Regions from separate parts of the Homo sapiens genome. Here regions 2, 3 and 4 are each linked to region 1. Evidence: promoter capture Hi-C in human tissues and cell types (Jung and others, 2019). All regions are on one chromosome and are shown on one strand. Each heading gives the region's core, a stretch centred on a gene start or on the middle of the fragment in contact. The rest is flanking DNA. Distances are from core to core; before and after follow the strand shown. Region 1 holds the start of ECM1 (extracellular matrix protein 1). Region 2 holds the start of SETDB1 (SET domain bifurcated histone lysine methyltransferase 1). Region 3 overlaps CTXND2 (cortexin domain containing 2). Region 4 holds the start of CTSS (cathepsin S).

Region 1 (5,563 bases), core at 3,010-5,509:
CTGAAATCGTGCCACTGCACTCCTGTCAGGGTGACAGAGTGAGACTCTGTCTCAAAAAAAAAAAAAAAAAAGGAATAATTCTCAGAGCTGGCTGACCAAGAGACAGTAATCAGAGTAGGGTGTCTGATGGACAGTTTCAGAGGTACAGCCATTGGGGGAGATGACAGGATAAAGGGTGTAGCCATAGATGGGTGGTGGTGAAGATCTCTGAGATGAGGAGCTCAAGGAATTGAGAGGCCAGGGTGTGGACATCAGGTAATATTATAACACCATTATTAGATGGAGAGAGCTGCTGAGAACTACTGCCAGAGTGAGTTGAGTAGAGTGAACTGGAGGGGTAGCGTATGATAGAGCTAGGTGACATGATGAAGGTAGTAGCCCGGGATGAGGGTAGGTTAAAGGGTGGGATGGCACAGGTAATGGAGGATAGTGGTTCTGGATAGTGCTTCTGGCTTATCTCGTGCCTTCCCATCTGTTTCCTGTAGATTGACGTGCACCTCCACGATGCCCTGGGCCGGCCACATCAGTGTGGGACAATTCAGCTTGACTTCCAACTGCCCCTGAGATTTGACCTCCAGTATAAGGGGTATAAAACCTTGCCCTATCCTCTTTTCCCTTGACAGTGCATGGAATAAGTCCTTCTGCCTTTGGCCCTAAAAACTAAACCCTCCACACCCTCTCCTGCCAGAGCTGAATATTTCTTAAAAACTGGAAGGTGATCTTGGGTACACAATTCGTGATACTTCCACCATTCCATCCACCCCCCCCTTTTTCCTTTCAAGGCAGGCGGGTGCCCTGGAGCGTCCAGTCCTCATTCACCGAGCAGTGCTCGGTTCTGTGGAAAGACTGTTGGGAGTGCTGGCAGAAAGCTGCGGGGGGAAATGGTGAGACCTCTGACCTGGATTTCTGTTCTGGCCCCAAACCGGATAGTTATGCTCCAGATCCTGTCCCCCTTCATATGCCAGCCTCTTTCCTTCTCAAGTCTGCTCCATACAAGCACACTTCTGGCCAGAGCCAGAGTGACTAATTTGCCATCACCTGTTCTTTCCCTACCAGGCCACTGTGGCTGTCCCCGTTCCAGGTGGTGGTCATCCCTGTGGGGAGTGAGCAAGAGGAATACGCCAAAGAGGTAAGGAGTTGAGGTAAGGGAGGGGGCAGAAGCAGGTCCAGTAGAGAGTCTGGTGCCCTGCAGTGGGCAGGAAGAGGCTGCAGGGGTGGTAGAGGAAGGAGCACAGCCCTCACAGCCACAAGACTGGGCTCGAGTGGCTGCTGTCCTAGATGCTGGAAATCCTGTATCTAAAAAATGTGACTAATGCCTACCTTGTAGAGATGTATGAAAATTAAACAAATTAACAAATGTTGAAAGCCACCAAAAGAGCACTTGGCACAAAACTGGGATTGAGTACACAGTTTTATTTTTCCTTTCTAGAGAGAATTGAGGATATGGATGGTACCAGAGTCAAACAGCTGGTTGGGTAGAGCAGTGGCTAGAAGGCAAAGTCCACGGAATAACTGGGGGGTCATCTCCAGTAGGAGGCAGAAAGATTGTGGGGTTGGGGATGAATGGGGAGGAGGCCTCAATGTGGAGATGAAATGAGGAGAGGTTGCTGGTAAGAAGTGGAGAGCCCCGAGGCAGGGAAAGGAGGAACAGATGGGGGCATTGAGGGAAAAGAGCATCAGACTGTTCTAGCTCCTTAACTTTCCAGTAAATTAACTTCCTGTCACCAAACCTCTGTTGCAGGCACAGCAGAGCCTGCGGGCTGCAGGACTGGTCAGTGACCTGGATGCAGACTCTGGACTGACCCTCAGCCGGAGAATCCGCCGGGCCCAGCTTGCCCACTACAATTTTCAGTTTGGTAAGCTGAACCTCAGAGCCAATGTTCTCCCACCTGCCGTCTGCATTCTTGCTGTTAAGTTTACCAAGTCTGGTAATGCATATTTGGGTTAATTGGGGCTCATTACCTGAGCAGGTAGGAGCCAGGATTCAGGACACCTGACTCATTTGGGCCCTGTGTTCCTTCACATTGCCCTGCCCTCCCCATAACCACTTCTGACACTCAAAATAGTTTTCCTCTTTTTAACTCCACTCTAGCTGTTGGTGTCTGTTAGGTTAATTAACCAAGGGAGCATCAGAGAGAAAGGGACGGGAGGGTTAATACAGCGTTAATTACCCTTGTTTATTTTAGACCTAGATGGAATCAGCCCTAAGGGATGAGGAGAAAGGCCTTAGGGAGAAAATTCTGGCACTGCCATGCTCCCTTTTTCATTTTCCAGGGTTCAGGGCTCTATCTCAAAGGTGAGGAGCAGAAACTCCTCAGCCAGATTACCTGATTCTTGAGTTTTGCACACCCCACTCTCCCTACAAGCACCCAGAGCAAGCTGTGCTGCAATCCCAGGGACTTGTACATGGCCCCTTTCCCTCCCTTACCGCCCAGTCAGCCCCTGCATACATCCTCCTCAGCAGAGGCCCCTCACTCTGTGAATCCAGCCCTAACAGACACCAAGAGCCAGAGTGGGACTGATGAGAGGAAACTGTTCTAAGGGTCAGAGTGGTTGGGGGGAGGCGGGGCAGTGTGAAGGCCACACCACTCCTGCCACCTTCCACTTGCTCTAATACCCCCTTCAGACACGCGCGCGCACACACACACACACACACACACACACACAGTTTCTCTCTGTGGGGTTCTCATTGTTTGTCTTTCTCTGCTTGACTCTAATGTCTCTGACACACACACACACACACACACACACACACACAGTTTCTCTCTGTGGGGTTCTCAGTGTTTGTCTTTCTCTGCTTGACTCTTATGTCTCTGACCCTGGGGCTCTTGACCAGAAGCGATAAGGCCTGCGGGGACTGAAGCACTTCCTTGTCTCCTCAGGATGAGCAGGACTGGTCATTTAGTATTAGCAGACACAGCTGAATACTTCCTTTCTGTGAACCATATCTGGGCTCTGCTCCCACCCTTCCTAAAGATTTAGGTCTCTCAAGTTTCTGCAGAGCAAAAGAAACTGTTCCATGTGGGTGAATTTGCCCTGAGGTTCCCAAACTTCCTCTACCTGCAGTGGTTGGCCAGAAAGAGCAAAGTAAGAGAACAGTGAACATTCGGACTCGAGATAATCGTCGCCTTGGGGAGTGGGACTTGCCTGAGGCTGTGCAGCGACTGGTGGAGCTACAGAACACGAGGGTCCCAAATGCCGAAGAAATTTTCTGAGCCTTTGTACATAGATGAGGCAAAAACCTGCGAGTGCCATCAGCCTCCCTCACATGGGAGACCCCAACCCAGCTGACAATGTGGAGCCCCCAGAACTTCAGAACTGTGTGGAGGCACATGTCTGCTCTCCTGAAAAGAGACTTGGTTTGGGGACCCCACAAAAGGAGGGAAGCTGTAGCTGTTTGGATGTGAGGAGAATGAAACTACAAAAAAAAATAAATTGGGCCAGGCGCAGTGGCTCATGCCTGTAATCCCAGCACTCTGGGAGGCTGAGGCGGACGGATCATGAGGTCAGGAGATCAAGACCACCCTGGCTAACACGGTGAAACCCTGTCTCTACTAAAAATACAAAAAATTAGCCGGGCATGGTGGCACACGCCTGTAATCCCAGCTACTCAGGAGGCTGAGGCAGGAGAATCGCTTGAACCCGGGAGGTAGAGGTTGCAGTGAGCTGAGATTGCGCCACTGCACCCCCCTAGGCGACAGAGCGAGACTCTGTCTCTAAATAAATAAATAAATAAATAAATACAAACTGGAAGCTGCTGGTCATATGTCTTCATCTCTGACTCTGGAGAGGTGGGATAAAAGGATGTTCCACTTTGTCTCCCTCTTTTTTGTCCCAGAGAGTTAGGGAAATTGAAAAGGGACAGTCCAGACCTCACACTGGTAGGGGAGATCCCTTGGATAGGTTTCCTGCTCCCCGCTGTAAACTCCTTTGTGCCCTGTTTCCCCAACCCCAGTTCATGAGTTGGCAGATCCCCTCTCCACAGAAGGCAGCCTGTAGATGGAGAAACTGAGGCACAAACTAGGGGCTCAAACACCTCTTGCTCCTGGATTCTCTGAATCAGTTTCTCTTGAAGGTCATAAGAATGTTCTCCTCTAATCAGTCCCATTCTTCTCAATCCTCTGAGGAGGCTTCAGGGTGACTTTGGGAGGAGTGGCTTCCAGAGGAGGAGCAGCTGGGACTGAGTCATGGCAGGAAGCTGAGGAGGGCGGGAGATCACACCAGACAATTATAAAAGAAGAGCTGGTCCTGAAGCTCACAACCGTAACAGCCACCAGACAAGCTTCAGTGGCCGGCCCTTCACATCCAGACTTGCCTGAGAGGACCCACCTCTGAGTGTCCAGTGGTCAGTTGCCCCAGGATGGGGACCACAGCCAGAGCAGCCTTGGTCTTGACCTATTTGGCTGTTGCTTCTGCTGCCTCTGAGGGAGGTGAGTTGGGGGATCAGCACTTAGGAGGGGGTCTGGGCTTGCATGGCAGGGGTCTGGGTCCAGGCATCCCAGACGGCTCATCACTAGCAGAGTGATTCTCCGTTTGGCTTTCCTTTTCTGAGCAGGCCCAAAGTGGGCCTAGGCCAGTGGAGCCTTTAACCAAGGAGGCAGAGAGCAGGGGCACAGAAGGAGAGGGGTTCCTAGAAACTGCTGCCAAGAAACACAGAATCCCAGTCAAATAGACAACTGAGTGGGGGGTGGGTTCACAGAGTGAGGGTCTCCTGCTGATGAGGATGTAGGGAGGTGGCTGGTGGGAGAGGCAAGGGAGGGAAAAGGGGCCCCCAGGCTGCTCAAAACCGGATTGCTGGCCCAGCAAGCCTCGACTGACTCCCTGTCTGATTAGAGGAGTTGAGGGGTGTCCATCCACAGACCCACCCTCCATCCAGCACAAACACATTCTTTATCTGCTTTGATGCCTGAACAAAACAGGAACCCCTCAATGCTATGGGTGGAAACTAAGAAAAAAAGGAAAAGAAAAGGAAAAAAACCACCCAGGGCACTCCTGCAGGAAGCTGCTGAGGATGTCAGCAAATCTGTCCACTTCTCTGTGAAGCCCCATGCCATCATTCTTCCCAGCTCCTGGTCTTTTGTGTCTGCAGATCACCTACAAGTGACCCTTCCCTGTGCCTGTCCCAGTCCCCCAGGCCCTAAATTGAGACCTAAACTAAGGCGGAGCTGAGACTGGCTGAAGGGGAAGCACTCAACCTTCAGGAAGCCTCCTTAACCAAAGGCCTAAAGATGTTTCAAGGGCCTGGAGTAGGAGGGTGGGTGGAGGAGGTGGATTGGGTAGGCTCCAACCAGCTCAAGGTCCAGACTTTTTCCTCTGAAAGCTAGAGACGCATCCCAGCAGAGACTGGGGAGGACAACCCACAGCCCTGAGGGAAAGACTGGCAGAGGAAATGAGGGCCTCCCTCCCCAATCCCGTATGCCATACTCCCTTTAGGCCCAACCTCTGAGCCAGTAGAGGTGGAGCTATCAGACCGCCACAGGCTTTCTCAGAACCCAGCTGGTCATGTCTAGGTGTGTTGGGGCTGGGAGAGGATTAGGGGACACGGGGCAGGTGAATACAGAGG
Region 2 (5,563 bases), core at 2,083-4,582, 420 kb after region 1:
GAGTAATAATTGTTACAACCTTTTAGAAAGGTAATTTGACCGCAGATTCTATTAAAATGGAAAAAAAGGGGCCGGGTGCAGTGGCTCACACCTATAATCCCAGCACTTTGGGAGGCCGAAGCGGGCGGATCACCTGAGGTCGAGTGTTTGAGACCAGCCTGTCCAACATGGAGAAACCCCATCTCTACTAAAAATACAAAATTAGCCGGGCGTGGTGGTGCATGCCTGTAATCCCAGCCTCTGGGGAGGCTGAGGCAGGAGAATCGCTTGAACCCCAGAGGCGTAGGTTGTGGTGAGCCGAGATCCTGCCATTGCACTCCAGCTTGGGCAACAAGAATGAAACTCTGTCTCAAAAAAAAAAAAAAAGGCCAGGCGCGGTGGCTCACGCCTGTAATCCCAGCACTTTGGGAGGCCGAGGGGGGCAGATCACGAGGTCAGGAGATCGAGACCATCTTGGCTAACACGGTGAAACCCCATCTCTACTAAAAATACAAAAAATTAGCCGGGCGTGGTGGCGGGCGCCTGTAGTCCCAGCTACTCGGGAGGCTGAGGCAGGAGAATGGCCGGGTGCAGTGGCTCACCGCTATAAAACCAGCACTTTGGGAGTCCAGGGCAGGTTGATCACTTGAGGTGGTGGGTGGATCACCTGAGGTGGTGGGTGGATCACCTGAGGTCAGGAGTTCGAGACCAGCCTCGCTAACATGATGAAACCCCGTCTCTACTAAAAATATAAAAATTAGCTGGGCGTGGTGGTGGGCACCTATAGTCCCAGCTACTCGGGAGGCTGTTGCAGGAGAACCCAGAGGCGTAGGTAGGCTGTGGTGAGCCGAGATCCAGCCATTGCACTCCAGCCTGGGCAACGAGAATGAAACTCCGTCTCAAAAAAAAAAAAAAAAAAAAAAAAAAAAAAAAAAAAGGCCGGTTGCGGTGGCTCACGCCTGTAATCCCAATCCCAGCACTTTGGGAGGCCCAGGAGGCGGAACCCGGGAGGCGGAGCTTGCGTGAGTCGATATCGCGCCACTGCAGTCCAGCCTGGGCTACAGAGCGAGACTCCGTCTCAAAAAAAAAAAGGAAAAAAAAGGCCTGGCGAGGTGGCTCATGCCTGTAATCCCAACACTTTGGGAGGCCAAGGTGAGCAGATCACAAGGTCAGGAAATTGAGACCATCCTGGCTAACACAGTGAAACCCCGTCTCTACTAAAAATACAAAAAATTAGCCAGGCGTGGCGGCACGCACCTGTAGTCCCAACTACTCAGGAGGCTGAGGCAGGAGAATCGCTTGAACCCAGGAGGTGGAGGTTGCAGTGAGCCGAAATCGTGCCACTGCAGTCCAGCCTGGGCGACAGAGCGAGACTCTGTCTCAGAAAAAAAAAAAGAAAAGAAAAGAAAAAGAAAGAAAGGGCCGGGAGCAGTGGCTCACGCCTGTAAGTAATCCTAGCACTTTGGGAGGCGAGGCGGGTGGATCACTTGAGGTCAGGAGTTTGAGACCAGCCTGGCCAACATGGCGAAACCTCGTCTCCACCAAAAATACAAAAACTAGCCGGGTGTGGTGGCAGGGGCTTGTAATCCCAGCTACTCGGGAGGCTGAGGCAGGAGAACTGCTTGAACCCGGGAGGTGGAGGTTGCAGTGAGCCGAGATCGCACCATTGCACTCCAGCTTGGGTGACAAGAGCGAAACTCAGTCTCAAAAACAAACAAACAAACAAAAAAAGGAAGGCTCGGCGCAGTGGCTCACACCTGTATGTAATCCCAGCACTTTGGGAGGCCGAGGTGTGACGAGGCCAGCCTGGCTAACACGGTGAAACCCCGTCTCTACTAAAAATACAAAAAATTAGGCGGGCGTGGTGGCACGCGCCTGTAGTCCCAGCTACTCGGAAGGACGAGCCAGGAGAATCGCTTGAACCCGGGAGGTGGAGGTTGCAGTGAGCCAAGATCGCGCCATTGCACTCCAGCCTGGGCGATAGAACGAAACGCCTTCTCAAAAAAAAAAAAAAAAAAAAAAAAAAGGAAAAAAGCACATATTATTTTACTCAAATTCCATTTTGGGAAATCTTTTCTTTTTGTTTTTTGTTTTGTTTTGTTTTTGAGACGGAGTCTCGCTCGGTCACTTAGGCTGGAGTGCAGTGGCGCGATCTCCTCTCACTGAAGCCTCTGCCACCGGGGCTCAAGCGATCCTCCCCCCGCCTCAGCTGCGGAGTTGCTGGGACCACAGACGCGAACTACCACGCCTGGCTTTTTTTTTTTTTTTTTTACCTTGTATTTTTAGTCGAGATGGCGTTTCGCCGTGTTGCCCAGGCTGGTCTGGAACTCCTGGGCTCTAGCAATCCTCCCGCCTCGGACACAAAGCGCCCGGCCTGGGGAATCTTTTCTACAGAAATAAAAGTACTACTTCAAAAGGATGTTTATTTTTATTGTTGCGCTATTTGTCGGGGCTGAGAACGGAAAACAATCTAAACAATCTAAACTATTCAGGTGTCAAAAATACAAGTTATTGGTTTTTTGTTTTTTTGTTTTTTTTGGTTTTTTTGAGACGGAGTCTCGCTCTGTCGCCCAGGCTGGAGTGCAGTGGCGCGATCTCCGCTCACCGCAAGCACCGCCTCCCGGGTTCACGCCATTCTCCTGCCTCAGCCTCCCGAGTAGCTGGGACTACAGGCGCCCGCCACCACGCCCGGCTAACATTTTTAGTACAGACGGGGTTTCACCGTGTTAGCCAGGATGATCTCCATCTCCTGACCTCGTGATCCGCCCGCCTCTGACTCCCAAAGTGCTGGGATTACAGGCGTGAGCTACCGCGCCCGGCCAAAAATACAAGTTTTACCTTTTTTATTGGCTTCAGGTAATGTCCACATGTTAAATGAAAACAACAAAAATCCAAATACAGAAACTCGTACATACAAGACTGGAAAATGAAGCTGTATTACCTGAAAGGAGCGGAGTGGTGATGGGGCAAGAGAGAATATTATCACGTTTTTCTTATTACATCTTGATAGCCTTTACAATTTGTATCACTTATGTAACAAAACAAACTCAAGTAAAACTGAGAGAATAAAGCTCTGAACCTATGAGCGTTTCCCTAAGTCTTTACACAATGAATATAGTAATGGGGCCACTAGTCGAGGGTGGTAGGAGCGGCGGAGACTCGGTAATATACTGGCCACGCCTACTCTGCCCTGCCAGTCTCTTCTCACGTGTGCCCCTGGAAGGCTCTGCCTTAACGCATGCGTAGTTACCTTAGTTTTCGTCGCCTCTGAGGGGCGCCCCGCGGCTTTGGATTTGACCCCGTCAGGCTACCGTCGCGGTGACCGGAACGGCACTAAAGGTTTGCTTCCGGGCGTTTCTTTTGCTTCCCCTTCCCTCTTTCACGCTTCCTCCCCTCCCCCTCCTCCCTTATCCCTTCGCTTTCGCTCTTTTCCGTCGAGGCCGACCCCTGAGTTGTGAGTCTGGGGTCTGGTTGGTGAAAAAGAGCCCTTGAAGCTGGAAGACGGGAGGTGCGGGGAATACTGTTGAGTTATTTGGTGACCAAAGGCTTATCTGGGACGTTTTGTTTGTGGGAGGGGGTCGGGCGAGGGTGGGAAGGAAGTCTTCCCCAGAGGCGAACGGGGGCGGGGCTGAACTGGGTTTGCGAATGGGTAGGACGCACCCCTAGAATGGGTAGCACGGGGGTGGGCTGGTGTGTGGGCAGAGGAAAATGGAGGCGCTGAAAATCAGATTTTCTTTAACCGTTTGATTAAAAAAGCAGTTCACACGAATGTGTGAAGTATTTGGATTGTGGATATTAGGTACCCACGTTTTATTCCCAGGTTGCTTTACTTCTCTGTACTTTGGGGGAAACCTTTTTGCTGCAAGCTTTCGTGTGTTTGAATATCATAGACTTTTTAAAAAGTAAAATTCCACATGGAAGCAAAGTAATATAAGGGGAACAAGTAATGAAAGAGAAAACACTGAGTTAGTGAGTTCCAAATCAACTCCATCCCCAGGTGGGGTTTTGTTTAAATTAGGCATAGCATACAAAGATTTATCACATTAGTTAAGGAACACATATAGACCACAAAAATATCTTATAGATTGGTTCTCTTCAGTATCCCAAAAGATTATTTTTAAAGTTCGGTTTGTTTTGAGACAGGGTCTCACTTTGTCACCCAAGCTGGAATGCATGGCGCGAACATAGCTCACTACAGCAGCTACTCCTGGGCTCAAGCGATCCTCCCACTTCAGCCTCCTGAGTAGCTGGAACTAAAGGCGTGCACCACCACACGTGGCTAATTTTTGTATTTTTTTGTAAAGACGAGTCTTGCCATGTTGCCCAGGCTGGTCTTGAACTCCTGCCCTCAAGCGACCCTCCTGCCTCGGCCTCTAAAAGTGCTGAGATTACAGGTGTAAGCCACTGTGCCAGCCCAAAACATTATTTTCAGTAGCTCTCTACTGCTTAATGAATGTTCTCCATGCCGTCTCAAACTCTTAAATCTTTTTCAGGAGTGTTAGCGTACAGCAGAAGATAAGAACTCTTAAAAATCTCAGCATCAGATTCTGGAGAATAGGGAGGGAGAACATGGAATATTTGAATAGAATAACAGGCAGCAGAGTAGGAATTAGTTTTATTAGGGAACTGAAATTCTCTATTGATTGATTGTAGTTATAAGGACTCCAATTTAATTTGTTTTCTGTTCCATGCAGAGGACAAAAGCATGTCTTCCCTTCCTGGGTGCATTGGTTTGGATGCAGCAACAGCTACAGTGGAGTCTGAAGAGATTGCAGAGCTGCAACAGGCAGTGGTTGAGGAACTGGGTATCTCTATGGAGGAACTTCGGCATTTCATCGATGAGGAACTGGAGAAGATGGATTGTGTACAGCAACGCAAGAAGCAGCTAGCAGAGTTAGAGACATGGGTAATACAGAAAGAATCTGAGGTGGCTCACGTTGACCAACTCTTTGATGATGCATCCAGGTGAGAACTCCATGGAAAATAGAAGGAAATCTCTCCATTGGGAGATGTTTTTAGAGAATAATTGTTCATGACATTGAACCAAGCATTTTATTTTATGTTTTGAGACGGAGTCTCGCTCTGTCACCCAAGCTAGAGTGCAGTGGAGTGATCCTGGCTCACTGCAACCTCCACCTCTCGGGTTCAAGTGATTCTCCCACCTCCCCCTCCCGAGTAGCTGGAATTATAGGCATCCGCCACCACACCCAGCTAATTTTTTATATTTTTAGTAGAGACAGGGTTTCACCATGTTGGCCAGGCTGTGTACCAAACATTTTATACTTTATGAAGTACAGATGTTTAGAACCTTACTCTTCCTCAAAGTTTATGGTCAAAAATCTGACCTTACAATCAGCCGTAAATATAATTTTCATCTGTCAGCAGCTAATACATGATCAGCAGTAAGGGAGTCCAAGTCTTAAGTCCTTTCCCCTTCTTCCTCCTGTGCTCTATCTTAGAACAATTGCTTCATTTCCCTAGTAAGATCATCCAGGGAGTGAGGATTGTAAAGAATTTCTGTCTTACGTAACTCTGAAGCATTAGTAAGTTCCCATACCCCCAAAAGATTTGTTTCTGGTGCTCT
Region 3 (5,563 bases), core at 2,207-4,706, 400 kb after region 1:
CATTCCATCTGCACATCTGGGAGGAGTCCAGGGGGTGGCATGAAAACCCAGTGTAAAAGATATGAGTGCAACTTACCCTGTTGCCCCAGAATTGTGGTCAAGTCTTATTGAAGGCACAATACTACTTATAATCTAAAGAAAGCTGCAACAATTAGAGCCAGAACCTCTTCCAAATCTCATGAGAAGATGGCGTAGTCAATCGTATATCCACCAACTCCCACCCCTTGTCCCACCACAGTATATATAAAGAATAAGGCCGGGCGCAGTGGCTCACGCCTGTAATCCCAGCACTTTGGGAGGCCGAGACGGGCAGATCACGAGGTCAGGATATCGAGACCATCCTGGCTAACACGGTGAAACCCCATCTTTACTAAAAATACAAAAAATTAGCCGGGTGTGGTGGCAGGCACCTGTAGTCCCAGCTGCTCGGGAGGCTGAGGCAGGAGAATGGCGTGAACCCGGGAGGCGGAGCTTGCAGTGAGCTGAGATCACACCACTGCACTCCAGGCTGGGCGACAGAGCGAGACTCCATCTCAAAAAAAAAAGAAGGATGAACTGGGGCCGGGTGTGGTGGCTCATGCCTATAATCCCAGCACTTTGGGAAGCTGAGGTGGGCAGAGGGTTGCTTGAGCCCAGGAGTTTGAAACCAGCCTGGGCATCATAGTAAGGCCTCGTCTCTACAAAAAATTTAAAAATCAGCCAAGTATGGTGGTGGGCACCTGTAGTCACAGCTATCCAGGAGGCTGAGGCAGGAGGATCACTTGAGCCCAGGAGGTTGAGGCTGCATTGAGCTATGACCATGCCACTGCACTCCAGCCTGGGTGACAGAGTGAGACCCTACCTCAAAAACAACAACAACAACAACAAAAAGAATGAACTGGGAGGGCAACTGGGAATTCTCATTATCGGCATTATGGGATGTACAAAATTTGTGATGAGAAGCAAAGATAAAAGTACTTCCCCTTCCTCCCAAAGCCAAAGATGAGGGCATGCCAAGAGAGACATTGGTACAATTGGTGACACCAGCAAGGAGAGACTAACAGCATTTCATTCCCTAGATAGATGCTTTAAACTGTAGAACCTGCCAAACCACTCTGGTCAGGTTGGAGTAAAGCATGGTGTGAGTTTTTAACCTGTGCAAACATAAAAAATCATGTCAATTTCTTGGCTACAGAGATCTGAAAGTGGAAGGCCCACTGGAATAATCTGTGCTGGCAGGGTTTATAGGTACCTTGGCAGAGTATGCCTAGGAAGAAAATGTGGCCAATCCCCCCAACCCATCACAGTCTGGCCACTCCCCTTGAAGGACTTCAGGTGTCTCCGAAGGAGCAGGAGCAGTGGGAGGTGCCAGGAGACCACTGTACCAAGCCATGTGATATCCAACGTGAGTTTAGGTTGGGAGAATAGAGGATAAGCAGCACCATTTGAAGGGGTCTTCAATGACAGAAAAGTCCAGAATGAAGAGAAACGCTACTCAAAAAACTACAAACATCCTTCACTCTGAAACCACCAGATCTAACCAGAGTAAGACCAGGTCACCTACTCACAGTTGGCCACAGCTGATTCATTAAATAGAGAAACACTTCACATTTTCCCCTTCCTTTCTTCCTGATCCTGTACAATGCAGAAGAAGAAGCCTGAAAAGGGAGAAGAGCTAATAGAACTCTAAATCCTCTATAAGATTAGGAATTTAAAACTGAACTAAGGTTTTACAAAAACCAGCTTTATTAAGATATAATTCACATACAATTCAACCATTTCAAATGTACAATTGAATGGTTTTTAGCACATTCACAGAAATGTTTTACCATTACCACAGTTGTAGAACATTTTTATCACCTCCAAAAGAAAACCTGTATCATTTAACTTTCACCCCCTCATCCCCCACCTCCAGCTCTAAGCAACCACTAATCTGTCTCTATAGATTTCTCTATTCTAGACTTACATGTGAATGGAATTATATAATATGCTGGGGGCGTTTGTGACTTGTTTCTTTCACTCAGCTTAATGCTTTAAGTTTCATCCAAGTAGTATGTACTTCCTTTTTATGGCCAATAATAGTCTATTGTGTAGACATACCACACTTTGCTTATCCATTTATAAGTTGATGGACATTTGAGTTGTTTCTACCTTTTGGCTATGATGAATAATGCTGCTACAAACATTCTTGTATAAGTTTTTGTGTGGTCACATGTTTTCATTTCTCCTGGGGACAGCCATAGGAGTGGAATTGCTGCGTCATATGGTGGCTTTTTTTTTTTTTTTTTTTTTTTGAGACGGAGTCTCGCACTCTCACCCAGGCTGGAGTGCAGTGGCGCAATCTTGGCTCACCGCAAGCTCCGCCTCCCAGGTTCACGCCATTCTCCTGCCTCAGCCTCCCGAGTAGCTGGGACTACAGGCACCTGCCACCACGCCCGGCTAATTTTTTGTATTTTTAGTAGAGATGGGGTTTCACCGTGTTAGCCAGGATGGTCTTGATCTCCTAACCTTGTGATCCACCCGCCTTGGCCTCCCAAAGTGCTGGGATTACAGGCGTGAGCCACCGTGCCCAGCCAGCTTTTTTTTTTTTTTTTAGACAGTGTCTCACTCTGTCACTCAGGCTGGAGTATGGTGGCATGATCAAAGCTCACTGCAGCCTCCCAGGCTCAGGTGATCCTCCCGCCTCTGCCCCCCAAGTAGCTGGGATTACAGGTGTGCGCCATCACATCTAACTAATTTTTGTATTTTCTGTAGAGAGGAAGGTTTGCCATGTTGCCCAGGCTGGTCTTGAACTCCTGGACTAAAGTGATCCTCCACCCACCTTGGCTGCCCAAAGTGCTGGGATTATAGGCGTGAGCCACCATACCTGGCCAGTAACTCTTATGTTTCATAATTTTAGGAACTTCCAGACTGTTTTCCAAAGTAACTTTGCCACTTTACATTCCCACCAACCGTCAATGAGGGTTTCAATTACTTTCTACCTTTGTCAACACTTAATCTGACTTGATTCTAGTCATCCTAGTGGGTGTGAAGTGGTATCTCAAAGTTTTGATTTCCATTTCCCTGATGACTAATTACGTTGACCATTTAAAAAATGTGTTTATTGGCCATTTGCATATCTTCCTTATGCAGAAAAAGAAATTTCTATTCATATCCTTTGCCTAATTTTTAATTGAGTTGTCTTTTCATTGTTTCGTTGTAACTTTGGTTATCAGGTCTCTCTCCGTCACCCAGGCTGGAGTACAGTGGTGCGATCATAGCTCACTATAACCCTGAACTCCTGGGCTCAAAGGATCCTTCTGCCTCAGCCTCTCCAGTAGCTAGGACCACACACATATGCCACACACCTAGCTAATTAAAAAAAAAAAAATTAAGAAACAAGGTATCTCCTTACTACCCAGGCTGGTCTCAAACTCCTGACCTCAAGTGATCCTCCCACCTCATCCTCCCAAAGTGCTGGTCAGGCATAAGCCACCGTGCCCAGCCCATTTTCTTGATAATAAGCTTCTTAAAGTACAAAAGTTGGCTGGGCGCAGTGGGTCACGCCTGTAATCCCAGCACTTTGGGAGGCCAAGGGGGGCAGATCACCTGAGGTCAGGAGTTTGAGCCCAGCCTGGCCAACATGGTGAAACCCGACTCTACTAAAAATACAAAACGTAGCCGGGCATGGTGGGGGCGCCTATAATCCCAGCTACTCGGGAGGGTGAGGCAGGAGAATCGCTTGAACCTGGGAGGCAGAGGTTGCAGTGAGCCGAGATCACGCCATTGCCCTCCAGCCTGGGCGACAGAGCAAGACTCCTTCTCAAAAAAAAAAAAAAAAAAAGTACAAAAGTGTTGACCAGGCACAGTAGCTCATACAATCCTAACACTTTGGGAGGCTAAGGAGGGCAGATCTCTTGAGCCCAGGAGTTTGAGACCAGCCTGGGCAACATGGTGAAACTCCATCTCTACCAAAACAAACAAACAAAAAACAATTAGCCGGGCATGATGACGTGCACCTGTAGTCCCAGCTACTTGGAAGGTTGAGATGGGAGGATCAATTTAGCCTGGGAGGTCGAGGCTGCAGTGACCCCAGACGGCACCATAGCACTCCAGCCTGGGTGACAAAGTGAGACCCTGTCTCAAAGAAAAAAGTTTTAAATTTTGATGAAGTCCAGTTTCTCTCTTTTTTGTTGCTCGTGATTTTGCTGTCATATCTAAGAATCCTTACATTTAGGTCTTTGATCCATTTTAAGTTTATCTTTGTATGTGGTGTGAAATTGTTACCAAAACACCAGGAGTTCGGTCTAGGTCCTGCTGCTCACCACACAGAAAGATGAGCAATACCTGCCCCTGAGATGACAGGTATTGCCAAAGAAGAAGGCTTTACTCAGGTGCTGCAGCAGAGGAAACCGGAACTCAGTCACAAATCCATCTCCCTGACCAACTAAAATTAGAGGTTTATATAGCAAGGAAGAAATGTAACAATGTGTAGGAAAACAGGAACTCAGGAGGCCAAGAAAGCACTTGTGACCAATGAGGGGTCTTGCACTTCATTGTCAGGATGGGATGATCTGGTTGAGTTTCAGTTCCTTGATACTTTTTTTGAGAGGCCTGGTGGCCCTTTCCTGAAGAAGGAACTCAACATAAAACAAATGTAAGTTTTAAGCTTTAAGACCAGAAGGTCAATTTCTTTTTCTTTTTTCTGTTTTTTTTTTTTCTTTTTTTTTTTTTTTGAGACGGGTCTCCATCTGTCACCCAGGCTGGAGTGCAGTGGCATGATCTCAGCTCACTGCAACCTCTGCCTCCCAGGTTCAAGCAATTTTCCTGCCTCAGTCTCCTGAGTAGCTGGGATTACAGGTGTGTGCTACCACACCCAGCTAATTTTTATATTTTTAGTAGACATGGGGTTTCGCCATGTTGGCCAGGCTGGTCTCAAACTCCTGACCTCAGGTGATCCGCCCTCCTCGGCCTCCCAAAATGCTGGTATTATAGGCGTGAGCCACCACGCCCAGCAAGAAGGGTCAATTTCTGTTGAAACAAAAAAAACTATGGGACTATTGGGTTCATTTCAAAATAAGGGTCTAACTTAATTCTTTTGCATGTGGCTATCCAGTTGTCCCAGCACCATTTGTTTTCTTTCCTCACCGAATTTTCTTGGTACCCTAGTTTAAAATTACTTGGTCATAGATACATGGGTTTATTTCTGGACTCTCAATTTTTTTTTTTTTTTTTTTGAGACAGAGTCTCACTCTGTCGCCCAGGCTCGAGTGCAGTAGCATGCTCTCGGCTCACTGCAACCTTTGCCTCCTGGTTTCAAGTGATTCTCCTGCCTCAGCCTCCCAAGTAGCTGGGGCTACAGGCATGCATCACCATGCCTGGCTAATTTTTGTATTTTTTTTTATTTTTTGAGACAGAGTCTCGCTCTGTCACCCAGGCTGGAGTGCAGTGGCGTGATCTCGGCTCACCGCAAGCTCTGCCACCTGGGTTCATACCATTCTCCTGCCTCAGCCTCCGGAGTAGCTGGTACTACAGGTGCCCACCACCACGCCCAGCTAATTTTTTGTATTTTTAGTAGAGACGGGGTTTTACCGTGTTAGCCAGG
Region 4 (5,563 bases), core at 1-2,500, 260 kb after region 1:
ACACCCAGCTTAAATATTTACTGAAAACACTGCCTGTAAGAACACAATTTTAAGAGGTAGAAAACAGTACTCCTTTAAAAGCATATCGCTCGAGTGGCAATCCAATCTACCTTTTCCTTGTATTGTTTGCCATAGGTTTTCTTCCAGAGATGCCAGTGGTGATCCAGGGTAGGATCTTTATGCAACTGTGCCACTGCAGAGGAGCACACCAAGAGCACACAAACCAGCCGTTTCATTCTGTGTAAGGAAAGGTAACATAGGAAGTGTTGCTATTAGCTGCATATGTTGTGACCACATGTTTTCATAAGAGAAAATAACAATGCAAAGTCTATCAAAGGGACAGACTATTATAAACAGAATTATACAGGAAAATTCCTGGGATATATAGTCACAGGGAACAGCTGCAGATTTATGTCAGAAATACTACTTCCAATGCTTAGTAGCACTTTAAAAAGTGATTTCCAGGAATTTCCCAATATCTGGTAAACCAAACACATCTAGAGGGTTAGAAAACAGGGACTTTCCAGGATTTGCCAACAAATCTAATCAAAGGAAATCTCTTTCTCTCTCTCTCAAAAAAAAAAAAAAATCATCCTTAAGAGAGACAAACCTCTGAAAAATCAGTTTATCTCCTGAATTTTTGAATACATGGGCTCTTCTTAACTGACCTGTTTAAATATCCACAGTCTTTACAGATAGTTAAAAGACAATTCTCATCTATTGCTTTCACATCTTTAGGTAGGTAATTTTCCTTTTTACGTTTTTTTTTTTTTAATGATCAGACATCTGTTTCAAATGAGGCAATTAACTACTCTTTAAAATGCCACTTCTGTATTTAATTCAAGAGACATCAACAGAAATTCAGCGACTAGCTCCCTCAAACTGGATTCTACTTTCTTTTCCATTTCTTTTTAATTGAAAACATCTGGAATTTTAAACATGTAAGCCTTTAAATTATATTCCAAAGAAAGCCATGTTTCAGTCTCAACTTAGATGCTTAGATGCTCAAGCAGACATTAACTTTTTAAAAATAGAGAAGAGGCAAATTGAACGACACGATTTTTTAGTTTACTTCCTGAAACCAAAGATTTAAAACCTAGCAGGCAGAACAAGTTACAAACACAGAGTGTTTGAAGACCAAATGGGAGAAAAAGAACAAAGAGTACATACGTGATAGAACCAGCAGTTGCTCCCACAGTAAGAGTCCTTGAATTAGTGGGCTCTCTTCTAAGATTTCAAAGCAACAAGGAGATTTCAGTTCAATTGACTTGAAAAGAAATTGGAACTTGTCACATGAGGTACTCAAAATGAGGAAGTGAACTTTCATTTCAGTTTCATTTAAAATCTAGCTAGTACAGTCACCTCTAGTCATTTCCCTATGGTCTTGGGGACAAAGTGGATACAGTAAGCCATCAAGAAGAGCCCTTGTCTGAGCCCAGTGGCTCATGCCTATAATCCCAGCACTTTGGGAGGCTGAGGCGGGAGGATCACTTGAGGCCAGGAGTTCAAGACCAGCCTAGGCAATATAGTGAGACCCTGTCTCTGCAAAAAAATTTTTTTTAATTAGCTGGGCATGGTGGTGCATGCTTGTAGTCCCAGCTGAGGGGGAGGGTGAGGTGGGAGAATTGCTTGAGTCTAGGAGGACAAGGCTGCAGTGAGCCATGATTATGCCACTGTGTTTCAGCCTGGATGACATATCAAGACCCTATCTCAAAAAAAAAATTAAATTGAATTTTAAAAACACCAACTTTTACATGGAAAACATTTAGTTATAAAGAGATTTAGATAAAGCTCCCCAAATCCCAGCTCCTTGTATGATTTCCTAGGAAAACCTGTCTTACTGCTTTTAACACAACTCATTCATGATCTGATATTGTCTGGTTCTCACTCAGCCATTCCTTCGTTCATCAAACTCAAAATGTCTTTATTAATATATACTATATGTATAGTTTAGTAATATGCGTGTGTGTGTGTGTGTGTGTGTGTATGTGTTAGTATATTCATGGAAAAAAGGATACACTCAAATATATCCAATTGAGAATGATTACCTGGGTGGGGTGGGAGCAAGACGAACTATCATCTTTTAAATTTGCATTTTCCTAATTACTAATGAGGTTGAGGATCTTTTCACACATTTATTGACCGTTTGAATTTTCTGTGAATTTCCTGTTCATCTTTTTTGCTCATTTTTCTATTGTATTGTTGCATTTTCTTAGTGATTTGTGGGAGGTGTGTGTGTGTGTGTGTGTTGTGTGTTTTCCGAGACGGAGTCGTGCTTTGTCTCCCATGCTGGAGTGCATTGGTGCGATCTTGGCTCACTGCAACATCCACCTCCCAGGTTCAAGCGATTCTCTGCCTCAGACTCCCAAGTAGCTGGGATTACAGGCACCTGCCAGCATGTCCAGCTAATTTTTGTATTTTTAGTAGAGACAGGGTTTCACCATCTTGGCCAGGCTGGTCTTGAACTCTTCACCTCGTGATCCACCCGCCTCAGCCTCCCAAAGTGCTGGGATTACAGGTGTGAGCCACCGTGCCCGGCCAAGGTGTATGTGTTTTAAAAATATATTCTGGCTTCTAATCTTTGACAGTTATATACCCTTAAAAACATCCTCCCTTAGTCTTCCACTTGTCTTTTATTTTATTTTTTCTTCCTTTGCATAAGCCTATGAAATTCCACTTGTCCTTTAGTCTTGTTTATAGTGAGTTTTTCTATATGAAATTTTTTTATGTTGAGGTAGAACATTTTATTCAGCTTTTCCGTATAATCAATCTATACTGTTTTTGTATAAGAAAATTTTCCTCATCCAAATGTAATAAAGATACACTCATCTTATTTTTATACTTTCAGAGAGTGTTTTATTTATCTTTTCTATGGCTACTGCTTTTAGGTGTTTAATTCACCTGGAATTTAGTTTTGTGTATGGTATGACGTAGGGAGCTTATTTTCTTTGTTTTCCAATTTTGATTCTACCTCTATTGTACACCAAATTCTCATACATAGATAGGTCAGTTTCTGAGCTCATGAAGCTGTTCTTTTTATCTTTTGCTACTTCAGTATCACACAGTTTTAATTAAAACAGCTTTGTAATATGTCTCCACGTATGGTAAGGCAAGTCATCTAGGCCACCCTATCTTTGTTCTTCTTTTTAAACATTGTCTTTGTATTTTGTACTTGTTAACTCTTCTTTATATGAATTTTTTGAATCAGTTTATCAAGTTCCCTGAAAAACTCTGTTGGAGTTTTTTGCTTTTTTCTTTTGGAGACAGGGTTTCATTCTGTCACCCAGGCTGGAGTGCAGTGATGCAATCATGGCTCACTGCAGCCTTGACCTCCTGGGCTCAAGTGATCCTCCCGCCTCAGCCTCTGGAGTGGCTGGGACTACAGGTGCACACCACCATGCCTGGCTGATTTTGTTTTTTGTTTTTTGTAGATAAGGGGTTTCACCATGTTGCCCAGGCTGGCCTCAAACTCCTGGGCTCAAGCAATCTGCCCACCTTGGCCTCCTGAAGTGCTGGGATTACAGGCATGAGCCCCCACATCTGGCTATTAGAGTTTTTATTTGAATATATGCATAAATTTAGGGAGAAGTAACATCATTATAATGTTGATTCATCTCAGCTGTAGTAGACATGTTTGTGTTTGTAGCCATACAGTTTTTTTTAAAAAGATACTGCTTATGGAAAATTTAAAACACATGTAAAAGTAAAAATAGTAGTAAAATGAGCTGCCGTGAAACCATTGTCTTGTTTCAACAATGATCAGTACATGGCCAATCTTATTTTATTTATATTCCCACTCTCACTACCTGAATTATATTAAATAAATTCTAGACATTCTGTCATTTCATACGTAAATGTCCCTGTGTGTGTCTTTAAAAGACAGAGACTATTAAACAAATATAATACCACAATACCATCATCACATCTAAAATAAATGAACAATAATTTTCTTTTTTTTTTTTTTCTGAGACAGAGTCTCACTCACTTGCCCAGGCTGGAGTGCAGTGGTGTGATCCCAGCTCACTGCAATCTCTGCCTGCCGAGTTCAAGCGATTCTCCTGCCTCAGCCTCCCAAGTGGCTGGGATTACAGGCATGTGCCATCACACCCAGCTAATTTTTGTATTTTTAGTAGAGATGGGGTTTCACCACATTGGCCAGGCTTGTCTCGAACTCCTGACCATAGGTAATCTGCCCACCTCAGCCTCCCTAAGTACTGGGTTTACAGGTGTGAGCCACTTTATTGTCATAAGAAATTAAGACAATAATTTCTTAATGTCATCAGACATCCTATCAATGTTCACATTTTCTGGACTGTCTTATACATTTTTTAATAGTTTGTTTGAATTGAGATTTAAATAAGCTCCATATATTGTGAAACCATTGAGTTATGTTTATATCATTATGAATTCATGGATTTAAACATATTTGATGTGTTTCAATCCATTCCAGTTTTATCCTTATTGATACTCATATTGTCTCATTTTTGGTCTGTAGGAATTTATTCAAACTGGCTCTTTGGTGCAGACAGAGTTTGTATATTTGGCATAATATTAGTACTCTTTAAAAGCTTCCTTTCTTTCTAATATGACAGGCTATTGCAGGTTTGTCTTGAACAATTCCTGCCCCAGACCTGGAATCAGCCATTTCTCCAAGGAGCTCTGGTTCCTTTTAGTGGAAACAATGTTTAAATACCATAATCTAGGAACTAGCAGTGTTTGGGATAGCAGATTGACCATTGTTGCTAAGCCTTTTCAGTAGCTAGAGCTAAGAAATATCTTTTTTAAAAAAATTAAATAAATCACAAGCTGACACTGATACTTCAAATTCAAATTCAAGACTATAGGGTTTACTCACCCCATCAATCTTATATCTGCACTTCTTTTCAAACATGCTTAAAAAATCTGGGTTCTCTAAAATATCAACTCAAGTACTTGTTTAATTTATCCTGTAAAATTGCAGAATAACAACAACAAGCCTACGCCAATAAGATTGTTAATGAAAACAAATTAGAGGTTTTAAAGTGGAGGGGGACAGGTTTTTCTCCATTAAGCCAAATGTCGCTAACGATGTAAGTCAATTACTGTGTTTTGAAGTCACCTGGAATAGTTCCCTGTATGGTTATGCTCCACCTCCATACACAGGTTTATTTGTTTCATTTCACTTCTTCCTTTTAGGGCTTGCTTTTTACACTTATGTAATTTCATTTTATAATTATGTAAAACATTTATGTGGATCCAAAGTGAAATCATCACAATGAGGTATATTCAAAGAACTCTAGCCTCTACTTTTGTCTGTTTTACACGATTTCCTTTTTTCCTTAATTGGTAATCATTTAAAAAATTTATGGTTTATCTTCCTATTTTTAGAAATATGCAAATATGCCTATATATTAATATTCTTTCATCTTAAGTGAACACTAACATATTACACATATTTTTCTCTATCTTGTTTTTTTCACTTAGCATTTTTTTTGTTTTAGTCAATCACTTAACATTTTATTAAGAAAAATTATTCAGGCGAAAGACATTAGCAGGTGTCCTTTCAGTGATGTGCTGGGTATTA

What was found. The method cuts DNA at HindIII sites, captures the fragments that hold promoters and counts their contacts. A contact is called where the count stands out against the background at its distance.
Region 2: the fragment with the promoter of SETDB1 here is called in contact with the fragment with the promoter of ECM1 in region 1 in 1 of the 25 tissues and cell types used here (mesendoderm cells).
Region 3: a contact is called between a fragment that was not itself captured here and the fragment with the promoter of ECM1 in region 1, in 2 of the 25 tissues and cell types used here (IMR-90 fibroblasts and heart left ventricle).
Region 4: a contact is called between the fragment with the promoter of CTSS here and the fragment with the promoter of ECM1 in region 1, in 1 of the 25 tissues and cell types used here (thymus).

The regions. Positions count from the first base shown.
Region 1 is chr1:150,503,850-150,509,412 of GRCh38, forward strand. It overlaps ECM1 (extracellular matrix protein 1), which reads left to right and starts at 4,260. Exons shown (of 10, transcript NM_004425.4): 1 at 4,260-4,430. The coding sequence starts at 4,361. TARS2 (threonyl-tRNA synthetase 2, mitochondrial) reads left to right here. Exons shown (of 18, transcript NM_025150.5): 14 at 486-586; 15 at 783-884; 16 at 1,057-1,129; 17 at 1,742-1,856; 18 at 3,067-3,753. The coding sequence ends at 3,215. The HindIII fragment of the contact is 11,585 bases long and covers 1-5,563 here.
Region 2 is chr1:150,923,031-150,928,593 of GRCh38, forward strand. SETDB1 (SET domain bifurcated histone lysine methyltransferase 1) reads left to right here and starts at 3,333. Exons shown (of 22, transcript NM_001366418.1): 1 at 3,333-3,487; 2 at 4,674-4,944. The coding sequence starts at 4,685. LOC107985204 (a long non-coding RNA gene) reads right to left here and starts at 3,311. Exons shown (of 3, transcript XR_001738231.2): 1 at 3,230-3,311. The HindIII fragment of the contact is 16,745 bases long and covers 1-5,563 here.
Region 3 is chr1:150,905,455-150,911,017 of GRCh38, forward strand. The region is part of intron 1 of CTXND2 (cortexin domain containing 2); the gene reads left to right. LOC107985204 (a long non-coding RNA gene) reads right to left here. Exons shown (of 3, transcript XR_001738231.2): 2 at 1,548-1,637. Among named protein-coding and RNA genes, the nearest start is that of SETDB1, 18 kb to the right of the region's middle. The HindIII fragment of the contact is 6,057 bases long and covers 429-5,563 here.
Region 4 is chr1:150,764,528-150,770,090 of GRCh38, forward strand. CTSS (cathepsin S) reads right to left here and starts at 1,251. Exons shown (of 8, transcript NM_004079.5): 1 at 1,171-1,251; 2 at 111-237. The coding sequence starts at 236. RefSeq lists enhancers at 142-191, 1,122-1,266, 1,125-1,269 and cis regulatory regions at 1,194, 1,197. The HindIII fragment of the contact is 11,511 bases long and covers 1-5,563 here.